Linked DNA regions of Homo sapiens: regions 2, 3, 4, 5, 6 and 7 are each linked to region 1. The links are contacts of gene promoters, found by promoter capture Hi-C in blood cells and fetal thymus (Javierre and others, 2016). All regions are on one chromosome and are shown on one strand. The core of a region is centred on a gene start or on the middle of the fragment in contact, and the rest is flanking DNA. Distances in the headings are between cores, read along the strand shown.

The links. Contacts are between HindIII fragments. The CHiCAGO score rates a contact against its expected background, and 5 or more counts as called.
Region 2: a fragment that was not itself captured here is called in contact with the fragment with the promoter of GABPA in region 1 in 3 of 17 cell types (non-activated CD4 T cells, naive CD8 T cells and total CD4 T cells); the score reaches 6.1 in non-activated CD4 T cells.
Region 3: a fragment that was not itself captured here is called in contact with the fragment with the promoter of GABPA in region 1 in 2 of 17 cell types (non-activated CD4 T cells and naive CD8 T cells); the score reaches 9.4 in non-activated CD4 T cells.
Region 4: a contact is called between a fragment that was not itself captured here and the fragment with the promoter of GABPA in region 1, in 5 of 17 cell types (total CD4 T cells, naive CD8 T cells, non-activated CD4 T cells and 2 more). The highest score is 12.4, in total CD4 T cells.
Region 5: a contact is called between a fragment that was not itself captured here and the fragment with the promoter of GABPA in region 1, in 7 of 17 cell types (total CD4 T cells, non-activated CD4 T cells, naive CD8 T cells and 4 more). The highest score is 18.9, in total CD4 T cells.
Region 6: a contact is called between a fragment that was not itself captured here and the fragment with the promoter of GABPA in region 1, in 11 of 17 cell types (total CD8 T cells, non-activated CD4 T cells, M2 macrophages and 8 more). The highest score is 15.5, in total CD8 T cells.
Region 7: a contact is called between a fragment that was not itself captured here and the fragment with the promoter of GABPA in region 1, in 8 of 17 cell types (naive CD8 T cells, fetal thymus, non-activated CD4 T cells and 5 more). The highest score is 15.1, in naive CD8 T cells.

What each region holds. Positions count from the first base shown.
Region 1 is chr21:25,733,116-25,737,507 of GRCh38, reverse strand. It overlaps GABPA (GA binding protein transcription factor subunit alpha), which reads right to left and starts at 2,536. Exons shown (of 10, transcript NM_002040.4): 1 at 1,930-2,536. It overlaps ATP5PF (ATP synthase peripheral stalk subunit F6), which reads left to right and starts at 2,604. Exons shown (of 4, transcript NM_001003703.2): 1 at 2,604-2,655. RefSeq lists silencers at 1,543-1,752, 1,813-1,952, 2,893-2,992 and enhancers at 2,453-2,572, 2,593-2,702, 2,129-2,784, 3,103-3,182. The HindIII fragment of the contact is 6,464 bases long and covers 1,018-4,392 here.
Region 2 is chr21:29,308,767-29,313,158 of GRCh38, reverse strand. All of the region lies in intron 1 of BACH1 (BTB domain and CNC homolog 1), which reads right to left. Among named protein-coding and RNA genes, the nearest start is that of BACH1, 12 kb to the right of the region's middle. The HindIII fragment of the contact is 3,024 bases long and covers 450-3,473 here.
Region 3 is chr21:29,284,456-29,288,847 of GRCh38, reverse strand. It overlaps LINC00189 (long intergenic non-protein coding RNA 189), which reads right to left. Exons shown (of 2, transcript NR_027072.2): 2 at 643-864. LOC124905007 (a long non-coding RNA gene) reads left to right here and starts at 768. Exons shown (of 2, transcript XR_007067841.1): 1 at 768-880; 2 at 4,244-4,392. The HindIII fragment of the contact is 3,354 bases long and covers 951-4,304 here.
Region 4 is chr21:29,083,033-29,087,424 of GRCh38, reverse strand. It overlaps a transcript of MAP3K7CL not described here. Among named protein-coding and RNA genes, the nearest start is that of CCT8, 12 kb to the right of the region's middle. The HindIII fragment of the contact is 5,814 bases long and covers 1-4,392 here.
Region 5 is chr21:29,065,358-29,069,749 of GRCh38, reverse strand. CCT8 (chaperonin containing TCP1 subunit 8) reads left to right here. Exons shown (of 15, transcript NM_006585.4): 3 at 248-327; 4 at 2,045-2,194; 5 at 2,679-2,859; 6 at 2,973-3,034. Among named protein-coding and RNA genes, the nearest start is that of CCT8, 6.1 kb to the left of the region's middle. The HindIII fragment of the contact is 1,949 bases long and covers 894-2,842 here.
Region 6 is chr21:29,034,388-29,038,779 of GRCh38, reverse strand. It overlaps USP16 (ubiquitin specific peptidase 16), which reads right to left. Exons shown (of 18, transcript NM_006447.3): 4 at 3,840-3,943; 5 at 2,406-2,509; 6 at 1,317-1,504; 7 at 350-445. Among named protein-coding and RNA genes, the nearest start is that of USP16, 12 kb to the right of the region's middle. The HindIII fragment of the contact is 3,546 bases long and covers 136-3,681 here.
Region 7 is chr21:29,013,851-29,018,242 of GRCh38, reverse strand. The region is part of intron 1 of RWDD2B (RWD domain containing 2B); the gene reads left to right. LOC124905005 (a long non-coding RNA gene) reads right to left here and starts at 657. Exons shown (of 2, transcript XR_007067836.1): 1 at 1-657. The HindIII fragment of the contact is 3,849 bases long and covers 1-3,788 here.

The DNA of each region.
Region 1 (4,392 bases), core at 1,287-3,786:
AAAACAAAAACCCATGCCCTTTTGGAGAAAAAAAAAATTACTCAGTTTCTTAAATGATCTGTCAAAAAATATTACTCAGTCTCTTAAATCTTTCTTTCTCTCCTGGTTCTCTATGCTTAGTCCAGAGAAGCAAAACAGAGATTTGAGAAATAGTCCAAATCTTTCATATCAGTTTTTGAGTGAGTCTTATCTCTTTTTCTGAAACCAATTCCTCAGGCTTCTATGTCAATACTTAGGAAAACTGAGAGAAAATTACTTGCAGTTTCTCCGTCTAAGGGCTGCCCCCGCCAGAACTGCACAGAACAATTTCATATACTTTGACACTCTGGTTCTGCTGGATTAAATCCAACCTGGGGTTCGGAATGTTTCACAAGATGGGATACAAACTAAACTTGAATTTAACGAAAAATTCTGGGAACGGCTAGTGTCTTTTAAAATACAGATAGGTGTAACATTCCCTTTTGAAACTACAGATAAATTTGAGAATTGTCCTTCATTGGAGAGCATTATTACAGAGCTTAGAACATTTTGTTCCCAATATATTATAAGTGGAGTGTGGGGGTACCTGCGAGATTAACTGCACATTTTCCTAAGTTATCAAATGCTTTTCTGTGTCTGAGGAAATTAAAAGACATTTTTATTTTCAAAAATAAAGGTAGCAGTTAAGAAAAAGCAAAGCATACATATCTATGTAATATAAAAAGAGAAAGCACATACAGTGAAAGATTAACAGTTGGGACCCTCAGGTGAAGGGTATCTGCGTGTTCACTGCATGATTTTTTCCCCAATTCTTCTGTAGGTTTGGAGTTTTATATATAAAGAGTTGAGGGAAGGCTAAAGTCAACAGTTTTAATTTAGTACTCGGTCTGATGATTTGCTTCAACCTAACATCTAGCTCATGATTTAATTACTTCATTACTATACATGCCTCATGACAGATGCTCTTGTATACACAATTCAGGTAAAATTGACTTGAAGTCCACTCAGCGTCACTGTATGTCTAAAAATAAAGAAGCTTGGAAAGCCTGGATGGAACCCTGAGAGACAGGCTAGTCCCTCAAGCAGTTGCTAAAGAGTTGAGCGGTTTCTTCTGAAGTTCAAGATAACACTACCGAAGAATGTTATCACCGCCTCGTTCTACAATTCGCTCAAGTGAATCCTGCTAAATCTTTGCTCTTCTCACGAGTCAGACCTACTGCTATTAGTGGAAACTACTTATGAAATGAATTTTATTTCTAAATTTCTAATCATCTTGCAATGCAATATTAGGCATTGTCCTCTCGGTCCGCTAACCTGATCAAACTGGGGTCCCTAAATCCAAACACGCACATACAGCGTGTCTTCTAGTACACAAAAAAATTTCCAAGTAGACAACCCATTGTTATCTCCTTGGTTTACTTCCTTGCTTAAAAACAAAAAAACAAACCCAGATGGCTACCATATACGCTGATAAATGATTCTGGTGTGTGTTGTTCTATAAAGAGAGCGGATTTGAAATGAGTGAATCGCTGAGTCCCGCGATGAGACAGGGTCTGCATTTTGCTCTTAAAATCTCGGGGGCGTCAGGACCACATCCCAGCTGAGCAGGCTGAGACTGCTGAGGAGTGCGGACGGGCGAGGAGGGGACGCGGAAAGGAGGGAGCGGCGACAGGCGACCCGTCCGGCACGGGTCCCGGCGGTGCCCGGTCCCCCCGGGCTCCAGGCCGCTCGCCCCCCGCCCCTCCCCTTCGCTCCCCGCACAGCTCTCCCGCCCCTCCCCACCCGGCTCCCTCAAGTCTCCACGAACGGAAATGGGAGTCACAGCGCCGGGGACCAGCGGAAACAAAACACAGAGGCGGCCGCGGGGGGGCCCTTGTGGGGGAAAAGGCCCCGGAACGAGGCCGGCCCGCGAGGGCCCGCGCTCCCCTCCTCCCCGGCGGCCGCACTCACCCACTCCGGAATCGGCCCTGTCGCCCCCGCCCGCACTCCAGAGCCGGCTGAGAACGGCAGCGGCGAGGGCTCCACGTGCAGCGTCTCTCCGGGTAAGACCTGCAGCTCCCGCGACTAGAAGTGTGAGGTCCCAGGGCCCTTCCCGCGGAATCGGCGCTGAGAAGCCCCAACCCCCCTCCCGCCTCCCAGGCACCTTCGGGTCCAGGACTACAACTCCCGGCAGGGTGCGCAAAACGACCGCCCAAGGCAACGGAGGCTCACGAGGTACAAGGAAGCACAACGCCCCAATCCGCTTTGTTTTACACAGTCTCACTTTCCCTGCACCTTTATACACTTCGATAACCCTAACGAACAGGACGCTGACTCGGAGGGGAGCTTGAACTAGGGGAAAGGCCACTCAAAGAGCGCATGCGTACAGAGCAAGGTTTCAAGGAGGGGAAAAAGAACGGGTCAAATTAGGCGAAGAAAAGATGGCGGAGGCTGTGCCAGGGGACCCGGAAGCACTTACCCTCCACTTCCTCCTCCTGTTTGGCTTCTGTCTCACCTAGACCCGTCCGGTCGCAGACTGTCTCCGAGACGCTTCCTGTCCGGTGAGCGTCGACCGACTGAAACGGCGGCCCATAATGCATTGCGATGGCGGGTAGGCGTGTGGGGGCGGAGCCAGGGCCGGAAGTAGAGCGGAGGTGGTGGCGGCGGAGGCTTTGGCAGCTCGGGACTGAGTGCAAGGTGACTGGGAGGGTAGCTAGATCAGCGTGGCCTTTTGGGACTCCAGTTCTGGGTTTTTTCACGAGGCCTGGGCTGCCTCTCACCTTTACTAGGAGGAGAGAGCAGCTCTGTGTCCTGGGGACCTTCACGGCCTGGCCCGGGGTCACAGCTGACCTCTACGTTTGTAGACCTTGGAGTTTGCCGTAGACCCAGAAATAAGATCGATACCCTCTCTGAGGGCAAATCGGGGCGGCGCGGGGGGCAGGGAGGCCCGGGGGTCTCGGGCCCGCAGCCTGGCTGGGGCAACCCAAGGTCAGGCGCGCGGGAGAGATTTTCGGCCAGGCCTACCCGCCCCGGGCGCACGGGAGCGTCTAGGCTACTTAGGCAGAACGTGTACCATTAAGAGGGAAAAAATTAGTCATAATATTGAAAGTTTGCATCCCACCTAAAAACGATGGTGCTAACACTTCATTAGGCGACTTTATGGATTGTTCATAGGAATATGCACTGAAGAGGCAGCGAACCTACTAACCTTTGGCCGGTCAGTCATCACTATAAATAGAACCATGCTCCCACCCAGAACAAGGCCTCTGCTCAGACTAGTGTTTTCTTACTGTTGCCTTCCCCAGTCTTTCTGATCATGTCAGACGCTATCATATGCTCTCGTGGCACCCGATGGTACTGGAATAGAGAATTTATGTCAGGTGGTATTTCACAGCTATTTGTGTAATGACTATCTTCTGCGTTTTAGTGGACAATATGCATTCACTAATCAGTGAAAAAAAATGAAAGGGATTAAAGGAGAAGGAACAAGTTTTGATATGGGATTATGTGTTCGTTTTTTGGATGAGTTCGTAGGACTTATAAGGGAGATGAGAACTGTTGAATGCTGTGGATAGATTTGGGGCTCAGGATGAATACTAAAATTAGAAATGCGATTGGGGAATCATAGGCACTTACATGGTGGATAATTGAAACAATGAAAGTGGATTTTACCCGTGTTGCAGAAGGAGTAACATCTATGCAGTCAGACTTAGAGCAAATTAACTGTGAGAATACGTGCAGCTTAATCTTTCTTAGATACAGTTTTATCATCTGTAAAGCAGGGATAAGAACACTTTAACTCTTTGAGAGTATTGCTGTAAGGGTACAAGGAAAGGATATATATGGAAGTACTTTGCACAGTATCTAGGGCTAAGCAAATGTCGGGTGAACCTATTGCTGAATGTTAAGCATGTCCTTAGTTTGCCAGAAGGGAAAGTGGCATTGAATTGCACAATTTTTTTTTTTGCATATATGTGTTAAGTTAGATTTTGCTGTGTAACTTTGACCAGATACTTTTTTTTTGAGACAGAGTCTCGCTCTGTCGCCCAGGCTGGATTGCAGTGGCACGATCTCTGCTCACTCCAAGCTCCACTTTCCAGGTTTACGCCCTTCTGCCTCAGCCTCCGGAGTAGCTGGGACTACAGGTGCCCGCCACCACGCCTGGCTAATTTTTTGTATTTTTCAGTAGAGACCGGGTTTCACCGTGTTAGCCAGGATGGTCTCGATCTCCTGACCTCGTGATCTGCCCGCCTCGGCCTCCCAAAGTGCTGGGATTACAAGCGTGAGCCACCGCGCCCGACCACTTTGACCAGATACTTCTAATCCTCAGTTTCTGTGTGTTTAAACATAGGAATGATAATAAGTGGCACATGACCTTGTGAGGTCATTTGTTGTTTGCTTGTAGCCTTTTCTCAAGTATTTTTCCCTGATGGG
Region 2 (4,392 bases), core at 712-3,211, 3.6 Mb before region 1:
TTTGTGGCCCAAGACAATTCTTCCAATGCAGCCCAAGGAAGCCAAAAGGTTGGACAGCCGTGCTCTACATTCTCATTAACCCTTGGTACTGTCATCTTTTTAATCCTGCCTATCCTGATATGTATGGTGGTATCTCACTGTGGTTTTACTTTGCATTTCTTGATAAGTAATGGATGTTGAGCCTCCTTACATGTGCTTATTAGCCATTTGTATACCTTCTTTTGTGAAATGTCTAATTCTTCTGGGCTTTTTAATTCTTATTAAATTCTACTGTAAGAGCTAGTTGAATTCTGATTAGGAATGCAATGAAAATATAGATCTATTTGGGGAGAACCAACATCTAAAAAACTGAGTCCTCCAGTATATGAATATGGCATCTCTCTTCATTTACTTAGGCATTCTTTATCTCAGCATTATTATGATCTTTTTAGTAGAGGGCTTGTGAAGCTTTTGCTATATTCCTCAGCATTTAATGTTTATAGTTACTGCATACAGAGTTGGTTTTTTTAAACTTCATTTTCTCTTTTGTTTTGTTTTGTTGCTATTGTGTAAAAACAAAATTATCGTTTTAAATATCAACCGTGAATTCTGCAACCTTAATTTGCTTACTAGTTCGGATAGCTGTTTGTGGATTCCATAGGATTTTCTATGCACACAATCATGTCATCTGCAAACAGAGACCATTTTACTTCTTTCCCGTCTTTATGCTTATTTCTTTTTCTTCCCTTATTGCAATGACCGAATAGTGAGAGTGGTGACAGTGGGTATCCTCATCTCATTCCCATATAAGGAAAGTGTTAAGTATTTCGCCACTAAATATGTTAACTGTAGATTTTCTAAGATGAGCAACTAATGGGCAGAGAGGCGGGTGCAATTGTTACTATCCCAGTTAAGGCTCCCACAAGAAAGAGGGGAGGGGAAAAAAGCAAAGAATGAAAATTCCCCCAACACGTAAAATTTCCCAACTCAGCCTCTTCCACGGTTTGTCTACACCACTTTCTAAATGCTTACATCTCAGATACCCCTAAAATCCCACAATCAGGGGCTGAAGATGAGGACAGAGTTGTTATCAGGGAGCACAAGTAAGGACATAAAGACTTCTCCAGAAACTGCCAAACAGCAGCTAGCGCTGCTCTAGGGATACCTATGGGTGGACAGCACAAAAGATTAATAGCACTTTATAACTTGAGGACTCCACTGTCAGTTAAGCATGTCACTTTACATCTCTGTGACTTTTTTCAACTTTTAGAATAGACAAATAATGAGAGACTTAATTATAACTATAGCATAGAATGTAAATATTATTAACCTTGACAAAATAAAGCAGGCTGGGAGACAGAATCAGGAAGAATGGGAATGGTATTTCCATACAACTTACAATGTGCAGAGTCAAAAGGCACTGCCTCAGATTAATGAGACAAGAAAAAGAAATAGAAAAAAAGTGTTTAGAGCTGGAGTTGCAGAGGTGATCAACAGTAGAAGTGGAATAATAAGATTACAAATACATGTGGGGGGATAGTAGAGTAAACGAAATCATCACCCACAGTAATACCAAGTCAACAGATAATATCTTAGGTTGATAAATAAACTGAGGTGTAAACATTTTAGACAGAGGTATCCACCAAAAAAATTAAATAGCAGAAACCAGTAAACATTGCACATAACTCTGAAGCAGAATTAGGGGGTGAGGTGCAGCAGATAAGGTTGTTCTCTGTACTTAAAAAAACAAACAAACAAAAACCAACAAGTATTACTTTGACTAAAAACACAAACTTAAAATGTTTAAATAGATAGTAAACAAAAGTAGCAAAATTTAGTTAAATGTAAATGGTTGATCACTTGGTTGCAAGTATTAATATAACTTTTTAGGAGAGTCTTCAAATAGAAAAGGCATTTGATAGAGAATATTCTGAACTAAAAAGATTTTAACAAAACTAAGAGAAGGAAAGAAAAAAATACAGAAAGACATCTTGTTTGGGTACGATGTTACACATACTATTTAATACTGGTGAATATTAATTTAAATCAGTTAAAATTTTAAGGGTATCCTCCAGAAAAATGAGCTGTTGAACTGCCAAATCACTAGAGCACTGGTTCTCTGCCTTACAGAATCTGATGAAATCTATTGAACTTCCACCAGAAAACCACGCACATAATAAAATTTTGCATTTGCCTTTAATGGAACTGATGAATAATGGATCCTCTCTTAAAATTTATTGACCCTCCTTATACCCCTCGATCTATAATTCTTTGCTCTCCTGTACTGAATTTCCAAAAGGAACCATTTATACTCACACTGTCTCTTCCCTCTCTTCCCAATTTCATTTGAGGCCACTCAAACAAGCCTTTTCCCCTCCACTCCGTGGAAACCATTTAGTGAAGCTCAACAGCTTCCACATCACCAAATGGCAAATGTTCAGTCTTCTTACACAGCATCTCAGCAATAGTTAACAAGTTGATCATTCCTTTCCTGAAACCTTGTCTTCACTTGGCTTCCAGGATACCACAATCCTCTGGTTTCTTCTTTGCACACACTCCCTAGGTGAACACATCTGGACCCACAATGGAGACACGATCACTTCACTGACTTGCTGAACACTCTCATATTCGTATTTGGTCCAATCTTGACTTCTCTCTTGAATTTCATACTCATATAGCCAACTGCATACTCAAATTACTACCTGTATGTCTAATAGGCATCACCAATTCAGTATGTCCAGAAATCTTGGTTGCCACCCTCATCACCATCACCATGCCTTGTTAGGATATATAATTAAAATATTAGCATGGTAAGATCTAGGTAATTTTTGTTTCTGCATTCAAATTCTTAACCATAAATACATACTACTTTATAATCAGAAAAATGTTGGAATAAATAACTATAAACAAACAAAAAATGTGCCTTGGTTAAAAAGATAGTTCACAATTATTTTGATTGTCGTGAAATCTCCCAAAGATTGCCAATTACATTTTCCCCCTTTAGAGTAGATATTTCCTACAGTCATCAGCAGATAATTGGTTTGTCACTACATGATAAGTTGATGGGCTCTAAAACTTAGCAGATTCTTCACAATAAATTACTAAAGAATAAATTAAATTTTATAGAAATCTAAAATAAAAAGAAGACTTGGTGTTTAAAAAAAATGAGAGAACCCTGCTATAGGAAAATGAGGAGGAAAGACCCATCAAGTCAAGTCTAGCCATGTGAACAAGGGCAAATGTGCATGTGTGAAACTGAATAGATAGCCTAAGTAGGTAGCTCCCACCCTATCTGTCTCACGAAGCCCTCTGAAAAATATGAAGTGTTAAACACACAGAATTATTAGGGACAACAGGAAATCAAGTTTTAGGTTATTTTAAGGCTACCAGCAGCTGTGGATAATCAGATTAACGCTCTACTGATATCATCAACCATGTGATCTTCTGTAAATTACCTGGCTTAACACTTCCTATAATAAAAATTCAGTTAAGCTTAATAAGGATCTCAAGATAAAATGAAAATATTAAAATTGCACAAGTCTGCCCAAAATAATGGCTAATTTCACAGACCTAAAGAATTTCCAATTAAAAAAGCACATTCATCCAGGATGACCCGCTTCTGTTACAGATAAGGAAACTAAAGGCTTGAGAAGGGCAATAATTTAAAGACTGAAAAAGTCTCTGCTCCCAGGTCCAAATATTACATTTCAATTCATGTTACATGACTCAAGTGGTATGTGGGGGAAGAATAGGTAAAACTGAGGAGGGATGGAAGAACAAGGAGTTCAAGAAATACCCCAAGTATCCTGTGTGTGATGAGAAGGAACACTATTACACAAACAGATTAAATGGGCATTTGTGGAACAACAAATTTCCCCTTATTAATCAATATTTGGTGAATCTTTCTTTTTTTTTTTTTTTTGAGACAGAGTCTCACTCTGTCACCCAGGCTGGAGTGCAGTGGCACAATCTTGGCTCACTGTAACACCTGTCCCCCAGGTTCAAGCAATTCTCATGCCTCAGCCTCCCAAGTAGCTGGGATTGCAGGCGAGCATCACCACGCCCAGATAATTTTCATATTTTTAGTAGAGACAGGGTTTCACCATGTTGGCCAGGCTGGTCTCGAACTCCTGACCTCAGGTGATCTGCCTGCCTCGCCCTCCCATAGTGCTGGGATTACAGGCATGAGCCACCACACCCGGGTCTGGTGAATTAATTTCTAAATAACACTCACTAGATCATATAACCAATCTCATGCATCACTGAAAGGAACCTGACACTAAACTGTGCTCAACTTAAATCATCAAGGTCTATAGTTATACATACTACATATGGACAACTAGAAGAAGAGAACACTAGGAAGTATTTCACTACAAGTTACTTTCAATACAGAGGATTAAGCATCCATGTTCT
Region 3 (4,392 bases), core at 1,378-3,877, 3.6 Mb before region 1:
GCACCGCATGATGTGGCATAGGAAAGAAAACATTAATCATAGACATTTCTATCACTTTTTAATAGACAAAAATCCGTGTTTCTATTAGCAGATACAAACAGATCAGTCTGTGCCCTTATTACTTTTCTAGTTGGCGCCCGAAATCCCTTAAAGATTGATTATTTGGGGTGAAGGTTTTGCGTATTCAGAAGTTCTCTGTTAAAATTCAAATTCTTTCAGAGGGCAAACATTAAGCCACATTTAAGGACAGTCGTAATCACTCTAGTGAGAAGCAGCTCATAAAAATACTCATGGCGAATGGGATTTAAATGCATTTTGACAGGAAAGTGGAAGAAAGCATCGAGAGCAGAATCCATGCCACTGTTGGGGCCTGAGAGAATTTTGGTGGAGTCGGGGAGGGCAGTAGAGGGCACTGAATGCTAAGTAGCAGAGGGATGACAGAGACGAATTCTGAATCATTGACAGGTGAGCATAGTTTTTGGAAACAAGTGTTACCTATTCAGTAAGACTTTTATTAAAAATCCAGTTAAGATATTGAAAATAAGGCCCTGAGATACTGTAGATTCATCATTATTAGTAGAAAAATAAAGAATGATATATATTATGAAAGTGCAAAAAATAGGAAAGATTTAAATACATCTATCCACGTTCAATATTCAAAATGTATTTTTGTGAATCTGATATTTCATAGATTTTGTTTCAGTTGATACACCAGGAATATCTCAAATGAAAGTATATAAAACAGGAATTATCTCAAATGAAGAAGTTGAGTTTTCAGGCCAAAAGCTGGCAAAGGTTGCCATGCAGTCTTCAGGCTCATTGACCAAGAGCCCCTTCCTCCACCTGAAACATTCCCTGAAGATCCTGTAAATAAATACAGGTAAATAAATTTGACTGTATGGACTTCATAAGTGCCTTCTTATATCAATTTATGTGCATGTTTTAAAGCTTTATATCATACAGTGTGCAGTTATATCCTTTTTAAGTATGATTTGTAATCATTTAATAAAAGGTCTATTAATTCCCTATTATGTCATATGATTTGTAGGAGGTATTTTGATCAGTTTTATTTATAATAGTCAAAAGTGTCAAAATCCTGGCCTCTGTGGAGTCCTGCTGGGAGAGAATATGAAGCAAGCCACAGATGGCCTAGAATAGAAACTGGAAGGAAGCTACATTGGGCTTCCTGCTATCTGAATCACCAAGTTCAGGAACTAAGTATTTACTAGTCTTGAGTACTTATTAGTTCAATTCAGGCTAACAGGAAGTCATTGATGAGAAAGTAGATGGAACAGAAATCAATGTAGGCTGCTTTTGGAGGGACTTTCATCCCTCGTGGAGAGGCATTTCAGCATAATGATTACAAACATGGACTTTAGTTAGAGCCAGAGTGTTTGAAACCCACTTCTACTACTTACCCATTTGTGCCTGTTTCTTCACCCATAAACAGGGATTATGCTGGTACTTATTACAACAGAGTTGTTGCAAATATTAAATGAGTTAACATACAAAGAGCATTTAGACCAGCACATAGGCATAATTGTATAAGTATTAGCTTCATTATTATAGAAGCCAAGAATATTTTAGATAAAAGCAAGGGTGAAGCAGAGATCAGGTCCTGCCCAAGCCTAATTTGCTGATTCTGAGAAGGGACTAGATAGCATCAAGAAATATGAAAATGGTGGCACTGAGGATTTTTTAGCTTTGAAGTTATGCAAGAGGAATACTAATCATTCCTTAATGTGAAACTATCCAAGAGATATTACCCTAATTTAAATTTCAGTTATAAACCGGTTTGATGATGGCCTTTGGAATAGAGGGGTGTGTGTGTGTGTGTGTGAGTGTGTGTGTGTGTATTTAAAAATCCAGTCAATGGAAAAAGGTTGAAGATGCAGCTGCGTGCACGCTCTTTGAAATAAGCATCTTCTAAGTGAAAACAAAACTGTGAAAACAGCCTCCCAGGGAGCAGGCTGGAGTTGAAGTACACAGTGTTGGTGATCCACCGAGACCCTTCAGACCCCTTTTACCATTTTTGTGCACCTCTCTGCTCTTGCTCCCGATGGCCAGCCCTTCTTTAGAAGACTTCCCTCAGTCAGTGAAGCTGCTTCCCACCCCCATCCCCTGCACATGTTGATTCAGAAATGCCTGCAACTTTACCTCTCTCTGGATGGTGCTTAGCTGCTGGGCAGAGGAGTATGAAAGCCAAGCTCCTCTGCCTCACGTTATTCTCTAAGTTCCCCTATGGGATCAGGCCACACCTATCTTCCGCAGGACTTTTGTCCAATATTGCACCTTGTTTGGCTTCCTCTCCTTCCCTATTCTTCCTTCATTTCCTTACTGATTTCCCTTGGGAGGAAAATAATAAATAACAAATCACTTGCACATGAATCCTTGTCTCAGGGTCTGCTTCTGGGGAACCCACCTGCTATGATCTGAATGTTTGTGTTCCCTCAAGATCCATATGTGAAAATCCTAACCCCAAGGTGATGGTTTTAGAAAATGGCACTTTTAGGAAGTGATTAATGCACTTAGTATACTTATAAAAGAGACCCCAGAGAGCTGACTAGCTTCTTCTACTATGTGAGAACACGGCAAGAAGGCACCATCCATGAACCAGGAAGTGGGTCCTCTCTAGACACAGAATCTGCCCGTTTCTGGATCTCAGACTTCCCAGCCTCCAGAACTGTGAAAAATAAAATTCTGTTTTGTAAGCCTCCCAGTTTATAGTATTTTGTTATAGCAGCCCAAACAGACTAACACACTGACAAGATAGAAGTGAAGTACTTTTTGTCTTCTTTTATAATAAATGATTAGTAATTAAGGCACACTCTGGGATCAGGAAATCTGAATTCAAATCTTGCCCTTAGCTGTGCTAACTTCTATGAGCCTGCTTTCTATCTTTGAATGTTTTCAGTTTAAGCAGTATTTTATTTCTTCTTAATACAACCAAGAACTGTCTTAGATTTTGAGTTACCTAGGTAGGAGAATGAACTAACTTTTGCCAAACATTGGGCACAGAGCTAGGTTCCATTGATGTGTGTTCATTTAATCTTCACAACAACCAGAAGGGGCATGTATGCTCATCCCTGTTTCACAGCGAGGAGTTTGAGAATCAGAGAAGTAATTTGTCCAATACTAAACTGAATGAGTATTTAAATGCAGGGTTATGTAGAACATAGAGTTATAAGAAAGAATCACAAAAACGGTAAAAATTCCATTATATGTAACTTAATTATATAAAGAAAATCTCTATGCAAATTTGCAAAGTTGACTGCAATTAAAAGTTGAGGAAGTGCAAAGATATATGAAGGATATAGGATGTCTCACTAAACATCCTACAATTCAAAGTTGCAAGGAAGAGAGAGAAAAAAAGGAGCAGATGAAGAATGAATTACTAAATATAGGTGGCTGGAAGGAAAATCAAAGAAGGGTGATGGGAGGTGACTCTCACTGTTAAAATATGGTGGGAAATCAAATGAATGAGGTCAAGGAACCATTGGAGGAATGAAGAGAGACTTCTAAGGAAAATAGTGGTGAACATCATTTTCCTGAGATAGGGGCCAGGAAAAACCCTTTGCAAGTTCCAATCAGCATGATTGCCAGGGTACACTGAACAAGAACGCAAGTGTGTTAGTTCAGATCCTCTAACAAGCCAACACCTGGAACAGGATTAAACATGCAAGGAATTGATTAGAAGGAATGCCTGTGTGAAAGGAAACAGCAGGTAGAGCAATAAGACTCCATTGCAAGCCTAATCTCAAGCAAAGAAGAGAGGAGAGAAGATTGCATGGAAGCATCGTAGAAATACAGTGCAGTCTAACGAAGGTTCAACAAAGTTAGCAGAAAGTCCTTGAGCCTAAGTGGACACTGGTAGGAGTCCCATGGCTCTATGAATGAGTCTGCCTTTGTATCCCCACTACACTGCATCACTGGCAAGGAGCAGCCCATGGGAAGTATAGCCTCAAGCCTCAAGCAAAGGTACCCATGCATTTCAAAACTTAGTAGCTGGTGCCATAGGCCAATTACAAATGGCCTTCTACTATGCCCTGTGGTAGAAGGTCTGGGAGGTGCATTCTCATGGCCTCTTTATCAAGTTTCCAAAAAGTCTTTGTTTGAAAGCTACAAGGCAACATCCCTTTTATTCTCAATGTTTCACAGAAAAATAATGCATCTAGTCACCTTTTATTGAGCACTCATGTGCACCAATCACTGTGCTAAGCACTTTATATATTTTTTCTTTTAGAGTCTTCACAGCACATTGAGGAAGATGTTATTACCACTTTACAAATGAAGAATCCAAAGCTTGAAGAGGTTAAAGGACTTCCTCAATAATGCAAAGATAGTAAGGGGTAATGCCAGGATTCAACTCAGACACACTGACTGCTGTTGCAG
Region 4 (4,392 bases), core at 860-3,359, 3.4 Mb before region 1:
GAACTGGGAACATAATTAAAAAACATATTTGGTCCAAATTCTCAGGAAGATTACATCCAAATTGGCAGAGATAGAGAGTTTTTAAAATTAATTAATGTGAAAATGTTTAGGGAGTATTAGCTTTTAGGATAAAAATAAAATAGGGTGATGTAAAAGGAATATTGAGGAAGTTCCTGAAGACAGAGTTGTCAAGGAAACCCTCTCTGGGGAGACGAGATTTAATCTGGGACCTGAAGGAGGCATCAACCACACTAAGGTCTGGGAGAAGAGAGGTCCAGGCAGAAGGAAAAGCTGGTGAAAAAGTCCAGCAGAGAGAATGAGTGTGGCATGTCACAAGAACAAAAAGAAGGTAGTGTGGCTGGGGCAGAGCAAGTGGAAAAGACGCAGGACATGAAGTAGGCAGGAGCTAGATCATGCCACTCCTTAGAGGAACTGGTTTAGAGTTTGGTTTTTATTTTAAGTACAGTTCAAAGCCATTGGAGGACTTTCATCAGGATGGTCGTGAAGACTGAGATAACACGCATAAAGCACTCAGCACAATGTGCAGAGTGAATACTCAGGAAAGGGGGACGTCATCATAATCATTGTTGATATATGATAAAACCCTAACATACAATATGTGAAGTCCAAAATATTTATTACTTTAAAACTCAGGGTCAAGTTATTGCAAGATTAATGAAGAAAGAACAGGGCCTTAGCAGAGGATAGGAGTCTATTGCCAATCACCACCTGGCCAGATTCTCGTTACTGTGGGGCAGGCTTTACTATATTTCTTGCCATCATTATCATTCTCACCATCAGCTTTATTATCAATGAAACTTAAGTAAAATCTTAGGCCAGCACTGCTCATCACGGAAGTGAAATGTTGATCAGCCTAGAGCAAAATGAATCTGAAGGAGCAATACTCAATGCTGTGGTCACTATGAAATGACACCAACATTCCTTAATTTCCCCCAGAGCATCATCAGGTAAGCGGACTTTCTGTTTTCCAAGCTGGGTGGGAATCCTTCCACTCATTTTCCAGAGCTGGTGGGCAGCAAACACTTACGGGGCCATGAACCTCGAGAAGTTCATTTCAAGCTGGAACTCACATAGATGTGCCAATGATTTTTCCTGGCCACATTTTATCATCTGTGCCTGCTCTTTCTCTAAGAACACCATATAAAGCAGTCCTTACTCCACGGATCATTTAGTTTACTAAATCATGGTTTATTTTTTCCGCAGGATATCACATGCTATTTTAGAATCAGTTTTCAAAAGGTCTTAAATGACTTGGCTCAAAATTGGTTTTGTATTAAGGGAAAGAACCGGTGTCCCAGAGTTTCAATCAGCACCTTAACAAATAGTCTGCCGACCTCCCACAGATTGCCAACAGTAATGGTTAGCTGAGACTTCCAAGGTCCATTTCTCTCTGCTTCTTTCCTACATTTTTCCCACCCTGTTTTCACTGAAAACAGGATTATAGTCGACAGTTTTACAGGAAGGGGTTGGGGGAAGGCGGACATACCTTAAGATCTGCTGCCTCGTTCCACATAACTTCTAAAGGTGCAATCAGCTGAACCATCTAGTCGCTTTGCATGACAGTAATTTAACCACTCAAGTTGTCTTTCACCTGGGGGATATAGAGAGTTATGATTCTGCATCAAAGCCATCGCAACATTCCTTCAAACAACATACTAACCATGCCGTTGGCATTCAATTAATGTTAAATACAGTAACATTTCATTCACATACAATATTGGGGAGAACGAGGTTTTCTACATAAATGAATTTTGCAGACAAGCAAAGCTCACCCCAACAAGAACCAAAAGATATTAGTAAACTTTGAATCATTTTTGATAGAATTTAAATGCTTTTTTTTTTTTTTTTTTTTTTTTTTAGACAGAGTCTGGCTCTGTCACCCAGGCTGGAGTGCAGTGGCACGATCTCAGCTCACTGCAAGCTCCGCCTCCCGGGTTCACTCCATTCTCCTGCCTCAGCCTAAATGCACTTTTTATGTCCAATGACCACTTAAATAAGGTGCAGGGATCTTTATTTTGTTTATTCATAGCCAATGATCACTTTAAGCATAATACACGGCTACGTGCAATGCAATGGTTTCACCTAAAAGCCTCAATTATGTTTCTCAAGTTCTGGTGAGCAAGTCTCCTTGAAGCATGTCAAGCCCTTGTTGGTCTAGCTGTCACTTTTGCTACTACTGGCAGGTTTGACTGCTCTTGGCTTGCACATTCCCACCCCATTCTCATTTGCTCTGTGTGAGAAGATTATAAAACTTACGAACCTGAGCAGTATTACTTTACAACAATTCTCAGTCCAGAAGGACCCCGGTAAGGGCTTAAGGGTTATTCCACACCTCAAATGAGAGAAAATATGGGCTTAGAGACAGGCATTTTCCTTGCTGACTTTTTTTTTCCTTTGTGAATTTTTGGCAAAGTCTGAGAATCATCTTGAGATAAGTCACTGTGCATTATTACATTTCCCAAACATATTCTCTTCTACTTCTTGTTTCTCACTTGCATTTCCTAAATAAACTTTCTTACTCATCTCAGAAAGTTAATTTCTAATTGCGTTTAGACTATATTTGCCTAAGTTATCAAAAATCACTGTGTGATGATGTCAGGGAATGAAAAGATCTTTTGGAAGGATTTTTGGTAACCATTACCCTCCTTCTTCATTGAGATTCCTGATGTGATTTAACTTTCACCTCGATGGTGCATTTGGCATAGAGTCAGAGGAGTGAATATCTGGTAAGAAAGAAAATAGTCTAATCAAATAGCAATGAGAAAATGTAATTGCTCTAGCAGACTGCTACATAAATAGACACATAGATCCTCCCTTGATTTTATTCCCCTGAGGCTAATGACTGACCCTAATGAAAATCCCAGAGGAAATCATTGTAATAAAAATAGCCAAAACATTAAGAACAGGGCAAGTGAGAATGATGATGGCTGATAAGCATTTGAACCATCAAGCATCGTTACTAATCCAACTACAAAAATAAGTACTGGCTCATGGGCTAAGTACCTAAAAGAAATCAGGGACCATCTTACATGAATCAATTAGTGTGTAGACCTTAAGAAAAAATATTCTACAATGACCCTCTAGTTCCCATTATTGTTTTTAATAGAATCTATATATAGTAATGTAAGAAGGTCTCAAGATTGCTTTTTATGCTTTAGTGTTGTGCTACTTATGATGTGGTAGTGTTTCCAGTTTAAGCCACAAATTATAAATTCTTCCTTCTAAGTAAAAAACAAAATTATTCTAAAGTGAAATTGCTAATCCCTTTAATCAACCCCAAACCATCTGTGAATTCATAAACTAGCAATTTTGGAAAAAAAAATATATACATATTATACATGTATATATACATATAATATTATATATAATTATATTACATATATGTCATAAAATATATACATATACATGTGTGTATACATATGTTATATACAATTATATATATTATATATTATAATATTAAATGATTATTTCAGAATTAGTAAAACAGAGATATATATATTACATAAACAAGAGAGGTAATATTATATATATTACATACACACACACACACATATATACACACACACACACATCCCAGCTGATTCCATAAAGAACTTTATGTGGCTTACAAAAACAAATAAAATCACTAAGGATTTTTTTAAGTTGAGATAGTCTGAGCAAAAAAGAAAGAACAATCAGGAAAATAGTAAAACCAAATGTTAAGAGTGGTAGACAGAAATGTTGCACCAGAGCCCTGTAGAGTTGGTAGAGATGGGCTACACATTTGGCTCTAAGTTTCCAGCAGTTAAAGAGAGAAACAAAAACATTGGAAGATTCATAGCGGCCATAAAATATAAAAACCATGGTTGAATGCTGAGATAAATTTTTCCCACAGGTCATATAAAAAGGATACCATGCAATGAAATGATTGACATCCATCAAAAACAGGCATCGAGTAGAGATAACAGTCTATGATAGTTGGCCATTCCTTTTAATTTTCCTTATTATAAGACAATGGCATGATACCAAAATGCAATTTATCAAACTCAGTCCTCCAAAGGACTAAAACTTTAATGGTCTGGCTTCATCCGAGGGCAAAATTAATTATCTAAATGGGAATGTGCTGCACGGCATTGAGGGAATTTTGCTCAAACATAAATTTTTGCAATTAGGCATTTGATAAGGATTGGATAAGGAATGGTTAGAAATTATCTTCTCAAATTGGAGTCCAGGGGGCAGATTTCTGTGTAATAGAGTAAGGCCAAGAAAATTGAGGAATTGCCCAAGGCAAAACACCCAAGTACCTTTAGAAAGGACCAATATCATGCCCTCCAAATATTTCTGAATTCATTTCAAAATATAATTAAATGGGAAAGTAAGACACCAATGCTC
Region 5 (4,392 bases), core at 619-3,118, 3.3 Mb before region 1:
AGATTTGGCATCTTACGTAGTAAATATTGTAGGACATTAGAAAGGGAAGAAAGAATATGGGTCTGCAGTCAGAGAATGCCCATGGGGCTATAAGATAAACTTGAAGAATAGATAGTATGTGTTTTCTTGCAAAGCTCTTTTTTTAATATACAAATTTATAATTTCTTAACTAGATTTTCCTGGGTATTTGGGGAAGGATTTGATTAATAATGGCTTTCTTTTTCTTTTTTTAACTGTTACTTTTGAGGAATGAACAAAATGGTTATCAACCACTTGGAGAAGTTGTTTGTGACAAACGATGCAGCAACTATTTTAAGAGAACTAGAAGTAAGTTGTTTCTTTAAAAAGTCAAGAAATATTTTGGTGACATCAAAATTAAGTAGATTTTAACTAGAAGAAATCTCTTATTTCAGATTGGATAAGGGACTATTTTTCCAGCTTGAAAATTTATTGTACAGATTGTTCTAATTATAAAGAGTCCTCTTTAGATTGAATGTTTTAGCCACTGAAATCTTAAAAATCTCTCAAGTTATTAATTTATGGAGGGATTGGTTGTGATACATTGCTAATTACGATATGAAATTGATTACCATTGTCTTCATTCTATAGGGTGACTCTGAAGTGAATTATTCCACAGTGCAAAAACGTATACATATAACAGTGGTTTTTAAAAAGATCCAACCATTTGGTTTTGTGAAAATAAAAACAATCAGTTGATGGCATTTTACTTTGTTCAGCTTTAGTTTTACTATTAGAATCTATAAAATAGATACTGCCTGCCAGCAGGGTTATAAGGAAGGTCTGGCACCTGAACAGGCAGAGAGAGCCATTCCTCATTCCCGCCTTGTAATTAAAGGATAACATATTCAACCTCAGGGAATTTTCCTGAAGCTTAGCCCTTGAAAGCACTAGAACTTAATCTTTTGTTTTAAATGAAACGATAGAAGAATCAACATTTTTCTAACCTCTTAAATAATATATTTTTGGTTGGACGCGGTGGCTCACGCCTGTAATCCCACCACTTTGGGAGGTCAAGGCAGGCGGATCACCTAAGGTCAGGAGTTTGAGACTAGCCTGGCCAACATGGTGAAACCCCATCTCTACTAAAAATACAGAAACAAAATCAGCCGGGCGTGGTGGCACACACCTGTAGTTCCAGCTACTCAGTAGGCTAGGGCAGGAGAATTGCTTGAACCTGGGAGGCGGAGGTTGCAATGAGCCAAGATCGCGCCACTGCACTCCAGCCTGGGCGACAGAGCAAGACTCCATCTCAAAAAAGAAAAAAAAATACATATTATATATATAAATTCTTAAAGAACTTAAGTTAAAAGTTAAATTTTAACTCCACAAAACACTTGTACAAGGGTTTGTCACTGTGAATGTTAATGTTGCACACTGATGATCTCAGGAGTTATTAAAGTACAGTGGTGATACCGTCAAAATAATAAAATCACAGGGCTGACTTTTTATAGTTTTCTTGTTGCTCTCAGTTCTTACTCCTTGGCTTGTTTCTGTAAAGGTATCTAAAATTAAATCCTAAGAATAAAATCCACATAAAATTATGTTATATTTGAAGAAAAGTTTTATACTCCCCCTTTTCTTTAAATCACAAATGATAACCCTTACAACAAGAATATATAGTAAAATAGATATTGAGAGTCATGACCAAGTTAAGTGGTATCTATTTTAGTTCTCCTGAAGGCTTTTAAAAAATATCTAGGTTTGGTGGTTGTAATTACTTTGTTTTTTAATTTAGTGAAATATGATATGGTGAAACATATGTGTGGCACTGTATGTGCAGGCCACCAAAAGAGGATGCACTTTGAAATTCTTATTTATAGTGATACATTTGTGCTGATCGGCATAAAGGGACTTGGATTTTTTCTTGTGACCACACTATAAGTAGCGTATAGCAGTGTAGCAGTGTGATCAGATGGAGTTACCTAATCTACAAGAAAATTGAGTCTATTTAAGAAATGGAAATGAACAATTTTATGTTGCTTTAAGGATCAGATGTTTAACTTGATATTACCTTTTCTACTAGGTACAGCATCCTGCTGCAAAAATGATTGTAATGGCTTCTCATATGCAAGAGCAAGAAGTTGGAGATGGCACAAACTTTGTTCTGGTATTTGCTGGAGCTCTCCTGGAATTAGCTGAAGAACTTCTGAGGATTGGCCTGTCAGTTTCAGAGGCAAGTGTTCATTTATAATTTACTCCTACTAAATTTTTGCTTACATATACACCTGCTTAAAACATAAACTAAAATCATTATTATAGTAGTAGCTAACATGCACTGAGCAGTTTGCTCTGTACCAGCCATTATAGTACATATGCTTCACATGCTGTATCATTTTAGTCTCACAAAAACCCTATTAGTGAGGCCTTATAATCCCATTTTATCTATTTTTTTTCCCACTTTATTTTAGATGAGAAAAGAGACTAAAATTAGAAAAATCTTGCCCAAGATCTCATAGCTAGTGAGTTAGGTAGAGTTAAGATTCAAATTTGGGCTGTCATCTAAGCCTCCATTCATAACTAGTAGAGTCTACTATATGTTTTATTCCGAAGTATATTCTTTGTCATTTTGTATCAAAAATAAACATCCATATGCATTGGGTTACCAAAATAAGCTACTTTAAGTCATGTCAGAATAGGAAATGTTGTTTATGTTTTAGGTCATAGAAGGTTATGAAATAGCCTGCAGAAAAGCTCATGAGATTCTTCCTAATTTGGTATGTTGTTCTGCAAAAAACCTTCGAGATATTGATGAAGTCTCATCTCTACTTCGTACCTCCATAATGAGTAAACAATATGGTAATGAAGTATTTCTGGCCAAGCTTATTGCTCAGGCATGCGGTAAGTAAATATCAGTAAATGAAAAGATCCAAAATAAAAATACCTTTAACATGACTAGATACTTTCTCTGTTGTCCCAAAATAATCTTTTGATATGTCTCATTTTCTTAACAGTATCTATTTTTCCTGATTCCGGCCATTTCAATGTTGATAACATCAGAGTTTGTAAAATTCTGGTAAGTAGAAAATGCATTAATGCTACATATCTAGGTCAGTTTTTTTGTGTGCTTTTTTTGTTTTTTTGTGCAAAAAAAAAAAAATGTGTTCATCTAAACCTAAATGTTACTTCATGATTTGAACACTTAGGACTTTTTTTGAGGCATTATTTTTATTTATGTACTTATTTATTTTTGAGACGGAGTCTCGCTCTTGTTGCCCAGGTTGGAGTGCAATGACATGACCTCGGCTCACCGCAACCTCCGCCTCCCGGTTCAAGTGATTCTCCAGTCCCAGCCTCCCGAGTAGCTGGGATTACAGGCATGCGCCACCACACCCGGCTAATTTTGTATTTTTAGTAGAGATGGGGTTTCTCCGTGTTGGTCAGGCTGGTCTCGAACTCCCGACCTCAGGTGATCCACCTGCCTTGGCCTCCCAAAGTGCTGGGATTAACAGGCGTGAACCACCGTGCCTGGCCTTTGAGGCATTATTTTGTAACATTTTGATGTTGCTAAGTTGTAATAATACTACTACCTATTTAAGTTTAAAAGGATATTGACATATTATCTCCTTATAAAGTCATTTTCTGTGATGTCTTGTGGGTTTAAGAATAATGTATAAACAAAATACTAAATTTTTTTTTTTTTTTTTTTTGAGATGGAGTCTGGCTCTGTTGCCCAGGTTGGAGTGCAGTGCCTCGACCTCGGCTCACTGCAACCTCCACCTCCCAGGTTCAAGTGGTTTTCCTGCCTCAACCTCCCAAGTAGCTGGATTACAGGTGCATGCCACCATGTCCAGCTAATTTTTGTATTTTTTTAGTAGAGGCAGGGTTTCACCATGTTGGCCAGGCTGGTCTCGAACTCCTGACCTCATGATCTGCCCACCTTGGCCTCCCAAAGTGCTGAGATTACAGGTGTGAGCCACCGCGCCCAGCGCAAAATACTAATTTTTTTGTGTTCTTCATAATACTCTGAATTATAATAAGCTTATAAGACAGTTTTGAGTGGGGTGGAAATCGTCCTATTCCTCTTCAATAATAGAATTCACACTTTAATGTTAGTATTGAAATATTAAAGTATATTTTTGATAAAATGTGCTTGATAGAGTAAAACCTATCAGTGGAATGGTTTTGGTTTTGCACATTGGCATTCTGATTGTTAATGTGAATTTAGCATAACATAAGTACATGTGCTTTCCCTGAAGATACTCACGTGTTCTATGTTTGCTGTCTCCCTCCACGTACTGCCAGCTTTTCCCATTAAATGCAACCTTGTGAGAACAGAATCTTTGCTTTGTTCTGTGTTGTATTTGCAGTACTGACAGCTGTGGCTGGTATATTGGCACCAAGTACTAGGTAACTGAATGGCTAAGACCAGTT
Region 6 (4,392 bases), core at 659-3,158, 3.3 Mb before region 1:
CAAAATGTAAATAATAAAAATGGATAAGGTAATATTTATTTGGTTACACAGCTCTTAAGTCACCTTAAAGATGTTAAAAATAATAATGTAAGCCTAAGGCTTCTCAAACATATACACATTCCCAAGAAGGAAGCTTAACACTCGAGCATAGAAAAACAGAGCACACACACAGCAAACAGATGTAATGCCTCCTTATAACTTCTATTAGCCTGAAACTGTTTAAGTTAGTAGCCTAAAGTAAAACAAAACAAACAAAAACAGTGGAAATGAGTGTCAGTTATTTAAAATAATTTAGAAAACACACATTCAGAGAGGAAAGTTACAGACTAGAAAAGTTTAAAGAACATACTGTTAATGCCAAATCAGGTGGTTCAATTTTTACAATTGTTCCAGACATTTTCACTTCTTTTAGTAGTTCTCTAAGCACTGGTGTTTGTGACAAGTTCTAGAATGTAGGGTGAAAAAAAAAGAGAAAAATTATTTAAAGGCAAATCAACTCTGACACTTCTTAAGTGTCTATTCTATCAAAACAGAAAATCATGACCAACACTGAAAACTCTATACTTGGAAAATGAAAAGTTACAGATGCTTCTCTCCCTACTCTATTTGGGTCATAACTACTTCAGTTCTGAGCTTATTCATCACCTCAGTGGGGCATTCTCCCACCACCCAATCAGAAGTAGCTATCCCCAATCCTCCACCATGACTCTCTCACAACCACTTACCACTACCTGTAGGTACGTATTTGCTTCTATATGAGGTTATCCTGTGTTTCCTCCACCCAAGTGCAAGCTCCATGAAAGAAGCAGCAATATTTCTTTCAAACCCACTGCACCCGAGTGCTCACCAAACTCTCTTACTGTCATGCAATAAAACTTTCCTTAAGTTTTCTTTGGCCAGGCATGGTGGCTCACGCCTGTAATCCAAACACTTTGGGTGGCCAAAGGGGGTGGACGGCTTAAGCCCAGGAGTTCAAGACTAGCCTAGGCAACATGGCGAAACCCTGTCTCTACAAAAGATACAAAAACTAGCTGGGAGTGGTGGCGCATGCCTGTAGTCCCAGCTACTCTGGAGGCTAAGGTAGGAGGACTGCTTGAGCCCAAGAGGTAGAGGCTGCAGTGAGCCACGATCGTGCCACTGCACTCCAGCCGAGTGACAGAGTGAGACCCTGTCTCAAAAAAAAAAAAAAAAAAAAAAAAAGTTTTCTTTGGATACATAGAAATAAATTACTCAGGTGGAAAAAACTCAATAATGTAAGTAGCAGATTCTATGAGGAAAAGGACAGCTTTTTTAAAGGGAAAAAAATGACAATGTACCTGCATAACTGCATTGAAGAAACATGTGTTTCCCAAATTACTGAGTCCTTTCACGGTTATTTGGCAAGGAGAATTCATGGGAGGATTCTCTTTAGCCATGTTTTCCTTCTTTTCTCTCTCTTGTTCATTCTTACTCTCTTTTTCTAATTTTTTATTTTCAAGTTCAATATTTCCATTATCTTTCTCTGCTTTAAAAAAAGAAAAGATTTAGCAAAATGTGTAATACAGTCATATCGAATGCAGAAGTATACTTGGGAAACAGTACTAGAGTTTGTGAGTTTACCTGAAGTCATTCTTTCCAACCCACCCACCCATTTGATTTTAAATAGATACAGGTAAATTGCCATCCAGAAAAAAAACACAAAACCCAGTAAACAAAAAATACTCAGACCTAAAGTAAGCATTAGTTTGATAAATGAAACCAAACAGTATGTGCTTTGGTATAAATCTCCCTTTTTTACTGCACGAAAATTCTTTACAAATGAACACATCTTACCTTGTGAAATTAAGAATATAAAACAATCAAGAACATGGACATGAAATAAATTTTTTAATGAATTCTGTGGGTCAAAAATCAATCCTAAAGTAAAAAACAAATAATTCTGGCTCTGACAAAGATACTTGTGACAATAAAAACTTAAAAAACATGCTTAAAGCAAATGCTGTATGTCAGCCAATTAATTTAATTATGCATGGAAAGAACCTAAGAAATATCTGACCATTAGAAGGAATCACAAATGCTTTATGTTATCCCAGCAGACAGACTGAAATCTTGCTATTACAAAATGTACGACAGTAAGAACAGTGTAAGGCAGGTCTATAGTAAGCCTGGCTAGGGTTATGGGAATTACCTTAGTCTTAGCATTAATGGCCATTACCTTAGTCTATGGCCTTCATCACATCTGACTAGATCATTTCTCATATCCCTTCTAATACCTTATAGTTAAACCAAAAATAGTTTCATAGTTTGCAATCAACCATAACTAATGTTACTCAGCTGTATGTAATGCTAGGTAGTATAACAAATCTAAGTATCAGCAGATACACAAATCGACATTTGGTGTATATTAAAGAAACAAATTATTTTACCTGGCTTTGGAGTTGTAATGCTGGCTTGTTTTCTGACATAATCAACCACTTGACCCAACTGGTTTGAACTACAATACTGGACCTCATTATCACATACGTAACACCTGTGACCCAAAAATCAGAGATGAAAAATGACAAAATGACAACTAAAAAGGGGGAGACAAATAATAATTCCTGGAATCAAAGTGTGTAACTGCCAACTTATTCTATTAAAGAAACCGAACGTAAAAATTCTGTTTTCCTGAAGAAGACTATGCATATTAACTCTGGTTTATTATTAATAAAATTAGCCAGAATTATGGCTGCATATAAGTAGTATGATGAAATACTCCAAACGTTTTACTTTACTGGTTATAACATTGAAGTCAAAAGATTGTTTACATATATTTTAAAATACAGAATAACACTAACAAAAATAACAACTTTTTTTTGTTTGTTTTGTTTTTTGGTTTTTTTTGAGACGGAGTCTCGCTCTGTTGCCCAGGCTGCGTGCAGTGGCAGGATCTCGGCTCACTGCAACCTCCAGCTCCCTGGTTCATGCCATTCTCCTACCTCAGCCTCCCGAGTAGCTGGGACTACAGGCACCCACCACCATGCCCAGCTACTTTTTTTTTGTATTTTTAGTAGAGATGGGGTTTCAACGTGTTAGCCAGACAAAAGTAACAACTTTTACAATTGAAAGATGCCATTCAAGCCAGGCACGGTGGCTCATGCCTGTAATCCCAGCACTTTGGGAGGCTGAGGCATGCGGATCACAAGGGGATCACGAGGTCAGGAGTTTGAGACCAGCCTGACCAACATGGTGAAACCCCGTCTCTACTAAAAATACAAAAATTAGCCGGGCGTGGTGGTGCATCCCTGTAATCTCAGCTACTCGGGAGGCTGAGGCAGGAGAATTGCTTGAACCTGGGAGGCGGAGGTTGTGGTGAGCCGAGATCACACCACTGCACTCCAGCCTGGGCGACAGAAAGATTCCGTCTCAAAAAAAAAAAAAAGATGTCATTCAGTGAAGACTACTGTGAAAATGATTTTTAAGACGTAAAAATCTGTTTTAATGATGTTACAATGCAGCATCTATAACATACCAGACTGACATTTATTTTCATGCAAATTCATAGCCAAAATTTTATTACAATTTTATCTGAAATTTGTTCTTAGCGTCCCTATCTCCACTATATGCCTTATAATATCACAAGCAAGAAAAACAAAGGGGTAAAGATTCTTAAGTCTTCTATGTTACAATGTTTGTGCTTGTGCAAACGTCCAAGTAAAAGCTTCTCATAATACTGCATTCTTTAGCTTTGTGAAAGTGATGGTATTTTAAAACATACTACAAAAATTTTAAATTGCTTTCTTCTTAAACATATTTAAACATTTCCATTCTCTAATATTTCAAATAATTTCCACCCAAGAGGCAGAGGAACTGAAACTCACCATACACTCCAGTTGTCCAAACTAAGAACCAGACAGTGAGGTTCAGATCTTGGCGTCAGATAGTGCTTCAAGGCATGCTGCTCCTGAGAATTTCTGCCACAGCCCTAAAAAAATCATAATCATAAACCTCAAAGCCATAAAAACTCAGCAAGAGGGGAGAATGCATAATCTATCATAAACAAGGAAGTGGCTCATGAAATTCTGCCATTCTTACAATCTTGAAAAGAAAATGTTAGACTCTAGAATCAATATTTTGTTAAAACTTACATATGCACAGGCAACTGAGAACATTTAAGTCAACAAGTATTTAGAAAACCATGCACTCGCTAGGCGCGGTGGCTCACACCTGTAATCCCAGCACTTTGGGAGGCTGAGGCCAGGGGTGGGATCACCTGAGGTCAGGAGTTCGAGACCAGCCTGACCAACATGGTGAAACCCCATCTCTACTAAAAATACAAAAATTAGCCGGGTGTGGTGGCGCACATCTGTAATCCCAGCTAATTAGGAGGCTGAGGCAGGAGAACTGCTTGAACTCAGGAGGCGGAGGTTGCAG
Region 7 (4,392 bases), core at 615-3,114, 3.3 Mb before region 1:
AGCCCCGGAGTCATTCTTCCGTGTCTCATGTAATTCATCTGTAAATCCTGTTGCCTCTGTTCTCTGCATGTATCCAGAACCTGAAGCTCACCAACTTGACCACTATAATCCTATCAAAGCCACCATCATCTCTCCCTAGTTATTGCGGTGTCTATATCTGGTCACCCCACTTTTCCTTTCACTTTTCTCCATAGCAGCAAGTGTGGGGATCTTCATAAGTCAAACCTCTCTTGTAGCTCTTACATGTCAGTCGGGATAAAATTCAAAATTCTGGCCATGCTTTACTAGTCCCAACATAAACTGCCCCACATTTCCTTACTAAACTCTTCTATTCCCCGTGTCCTCAGCTCACTGTGCTCTGGCCAGCTGTTCTAGCACCCTCCTTCCTCAAGGCCTTTGAATATGCTGTTCGCTTTCCCTTGAACACTCTTGGCCAAGAAAAACACATGGCCTCCTTTTTCAGTTCCTTAAAGTCTCTTCCCTACAGTCACCTTAGGAGAAAGGCCTTTCCTGACAATGCTGTGTGCAGTCTCACCCCTGCTGCCTCATTGTTTCCCTTATCCTTGTTTTCTTTTTCAGGTTTCTTCATAGCAGTTATTCACTGGGTACAAAAATTCTTTTTTGTTTTTTTTTGAGACAGTCTTGCTCTGTTGCTCTGGCTGGAGTGCAGAGGTATGATCTTAGCTCACTGCAACCTCCGCCTCCCCAGTTCAAGCGATTCTCCTGCCTCAGCCTCCCTAGTAGCTGGGACTACAGGCGTGGGCGACCACACCTGGCTAATTTTTGTATTTTTAGTAGAGATGGGGTTTCATCATGTTGGCCAGGCTGGTCTCAAACTCCTGACCTTAGGTGATCCGCCCACCTCATCCTCCCAAAGTGCTGGGATTACAGGCGTGAGCCACCACCGCACCTGGGCTGGGCGTATAAATTTGTTTTTGATGTCATGGTATCCTCCCACCAGTAGAGTTGTTTTATTACTTTCATTCATTGTTATCTTAGTGCCAGTGCTTGAACGTAAGTGCTTGAGAAACATTTGTTGAAATGATGACCAATAATAATAATAGTAATAAGCAGCCGGACACGGTGGCTCATGCCTGTAATCCCAGCACTTTGGGAGCCCAGGGCGGGTGGATCATGACGGCAGGAGTTCGAGACCAGCCTGGCCAACGTGGTGAAACCCCGTCTCTACTAAAAAACCCAGAAAGCAGAGGTTGTAGTGAGCCGACTCTGCACTCTGGCCTGGGTGACAGAGCTAGACCCTGTCTCAAAAAAAAAGGTTTTTTTAATTAATAATAATAGTAGCAAGCACGCATATAAAATTTACTGTTGCCAGGCACTTTCCACAAATTCTCATCTAATCATCACAGCAACCCTCTCATCCCAGTTATGGAGTTGGGGAGACTAAAGCACAGATAAATTAAGCCACTTGCCTAAGGTCCTGCAGTTGGTAAGTGGCAGAGCCAGGAGTCGCACCTTGGCAATCTGGTAATAGAATCCAAAAACACTGGTAACAGAGCCACGCCAACAAAAAAACAAAGTAAACCATTTCCTCTAATAACCACCCAAGTAGTTGTTTTTTATGTTTCTCAACTCCAAAACAGACCAGCAAATATGTATATGGAATTCCAATAAGTCCAGGGATTTTAAGTATGTATGAGGATTTTGTTTAAAAAAAAAAAGGCCGGGAGCAGTGGCTCATGCCTGTAATCCCAGCACTCTGGGAGGCCAAGGCGGGTGAATCACCTGAGGTCGGGAGTTTGAGACTAGCCCAACTGACATGGTGTAACTCCATCTCTACTAAATACAAAAAATTAGCTGGGTGTGGTGGCGCATGCCTGTAATCCTAGCTACTTGGGAGGCTGAGGCAGGAGAATCGCTTGAACCTGGGAGGTGGAGATTGCAGTGAGCCGAGATTGCACCATTTCACTCCAGCCTGGGCAACAAGAGCGAAACTCCGTCTCAAAAAAATAAATAAATAAAAAATCGGAAAAAAAACAAAAGAAAACATTGCGATTAAAGGAGGGAGGAATATTTGCAGTTCCAACAGTTATTAGAAGAGGAAAACTTCAAATTAAACATGAATAGACATATTAATAAATATATGTTAATATATGTATAAATATTATCAAGGCTACCCACCATCTTTTATGATACTTTAAATGCTTATATTTAAACTACTTAAATTCAGGTAACTACATGGCAAAATAAGGAATCCTGCTCTGTTCTGTGGAGAGGAGGGCTAATGTCATTTGGCCTGGAAAAACATGTTCTGGAGTCAGACAGAATACTGAACACCCCTCTTGGAAATTCACAGTTTAAGACTCTGAGAAGTCACAAATAAGAATTGTGCCCATATAGTCTCTCGCCTAATTAGGATTGCTTTTGTCTAGGATAAATACCTAAACCATATGGGGCTGGGCATGGTGGCTCACGCCTGTAATCCCAGCACTTTGGAAGGCCAGGGTAGGTAGATCACCTGAGGTCAGGAGTTTGAGACCAGCCTGGCCAACATGATAAAACCCTTTCTCTACTAAAAATACAAAAAATTAGCTGGGCGTGGTGGCGAACACCTGTAATCCCAGCTATTCGGGAGGCTGAGGCAAGAGAATCACTTGAACCCAGGAGGCGGAGGTTGTGGTGAGCCAAGATTGTGCCATTGCACTCCAGCCTGGGCAACAAGAGCAAAACTCCATCTCAAAAAAAAAAAAAAAAAAGACTAGGTGTGGCGGCTCACACCTGTAATCACAGCACTTTGGGAGGCCAACGCGGGTGGATCACAAGGTCAGGATTTCGAGACCAGCCTGCCCAACATGGTGAAACCCCATCTCTACTAAAAATACAAAAATTAGCTGGGCGTAGTGGTGTGCGCCTGTAATCCCAGCTACGCAGGAGGCTGAGGCAGGAGAATTGCTTGAACCTGGGAGGTGGAGGTTGCAATAAGCCAAGATTGCACCATTGTACTCCAGCCTGGGTGACAAAGTGAGACTCCCATCTCAAAAAAAAAAAAAAAAAAAAAAACGCATCATAATCAAACTTCTGAAAACCAAAGACAATGAAAAATTCTTAAAATTAGTGACAAAAATGAACCTTATCTGTAAAGGAAAACAATTCAAATGAGAGTGATTTCTCATCAGTCACCAGAGAGGCTAGGTGAAGAGGCACAGCATTTTTCAATTGTTGAAAGTAAAAACCTGTTAAGCCAGAATACTGCATCCAGTGAAAATATTCTGCAGAAATGAAGGGGAAATCAAGACATTCTAAGATGAAGGAAATCTAGGAGATTTGTCACCAGCAGACCTATCCTAAAAGAATGGTTAAAATAGGTTCTCTAAACAGAAAAGAAATAATAAAAGAATTATTATTAAAGAAATATAATTTAGACCTATTTTATTTTACTTTATTTATTTTTATTTTTTTATTTTTAGAAGGAGTCTCGCTCTGCCGCCCAGGCTGGAGTGCAGTGGCTGTATCTCGGCTCACTGAAAGCTCTGCCTCCTGGGTTCACGCCATTCTCCTGCCTCAGCCTCCTGAGTAGCTGGGACTACAGGTGCCCGCCACCACGCCCGGCTAATTTTTTGTATTTTTAGTAGAGATGGGGTTTCACCATGTTAGCCAGGATGGTCTTGATCTCCTGACCTCATGATCTGCCTGCCTTGGCCTCCCAAAGTGCTGGGATTACAGGCGTGAGCCACTGCGCCAGGCCATTTAGACCTATTTTAGGACTGTTAAGACTGAGATGGTCTCTGCTGTGGTTTAATGTGTGCCCCAAAGTTCATGTGTTAGAAGCTTTATCCCAAAGCAATAGAGTTGAGTGGTGGGACCTTTCAGAGGTGATTAAGTGATATGCAGGGATATAACAAAAAATGTAACATTCCTGTCATCAGCATTTCAGAAGAAGAGAAAGAAGGCAGGGTTGAAAAAGTTCCCAAAGAACAGGGCCCTCACAAATGGATTAATGGTGTTACTGCAGGAGTGGGTTAGTTATTGTGGGAGTGGGTTCCTGATAAAAGCATGCATTTGGCCCCTTCATCTCTCTTGCACTTGCTCTCATTCTCTCTTGCCCTCTGCCTTCCGCCATGGGATGACTCAGTAAGAATGCCCTTGCAAAATGCAGGCACCATTCTCTTGGATTTCCCTGCTTCCAGAACAATAAGCCAAATAAATTTCTCTTCATCGTAAACTACCCAGTCTCAGGTAGTCTGTTATCGTAACAGAAAATGAACTAATATAACATCCAATAGAAATATACAGATATAGTTAAATTTACAAATATGGGGCTCGAGAATTTGGAACATCCTAAGAATTTGAGAATTGTGAACATTTAATATTCAGTAATACTTGGTACCATGAGACAATAGAGAAGATAAAGATGTCCTCAACCAAACCTTAAGG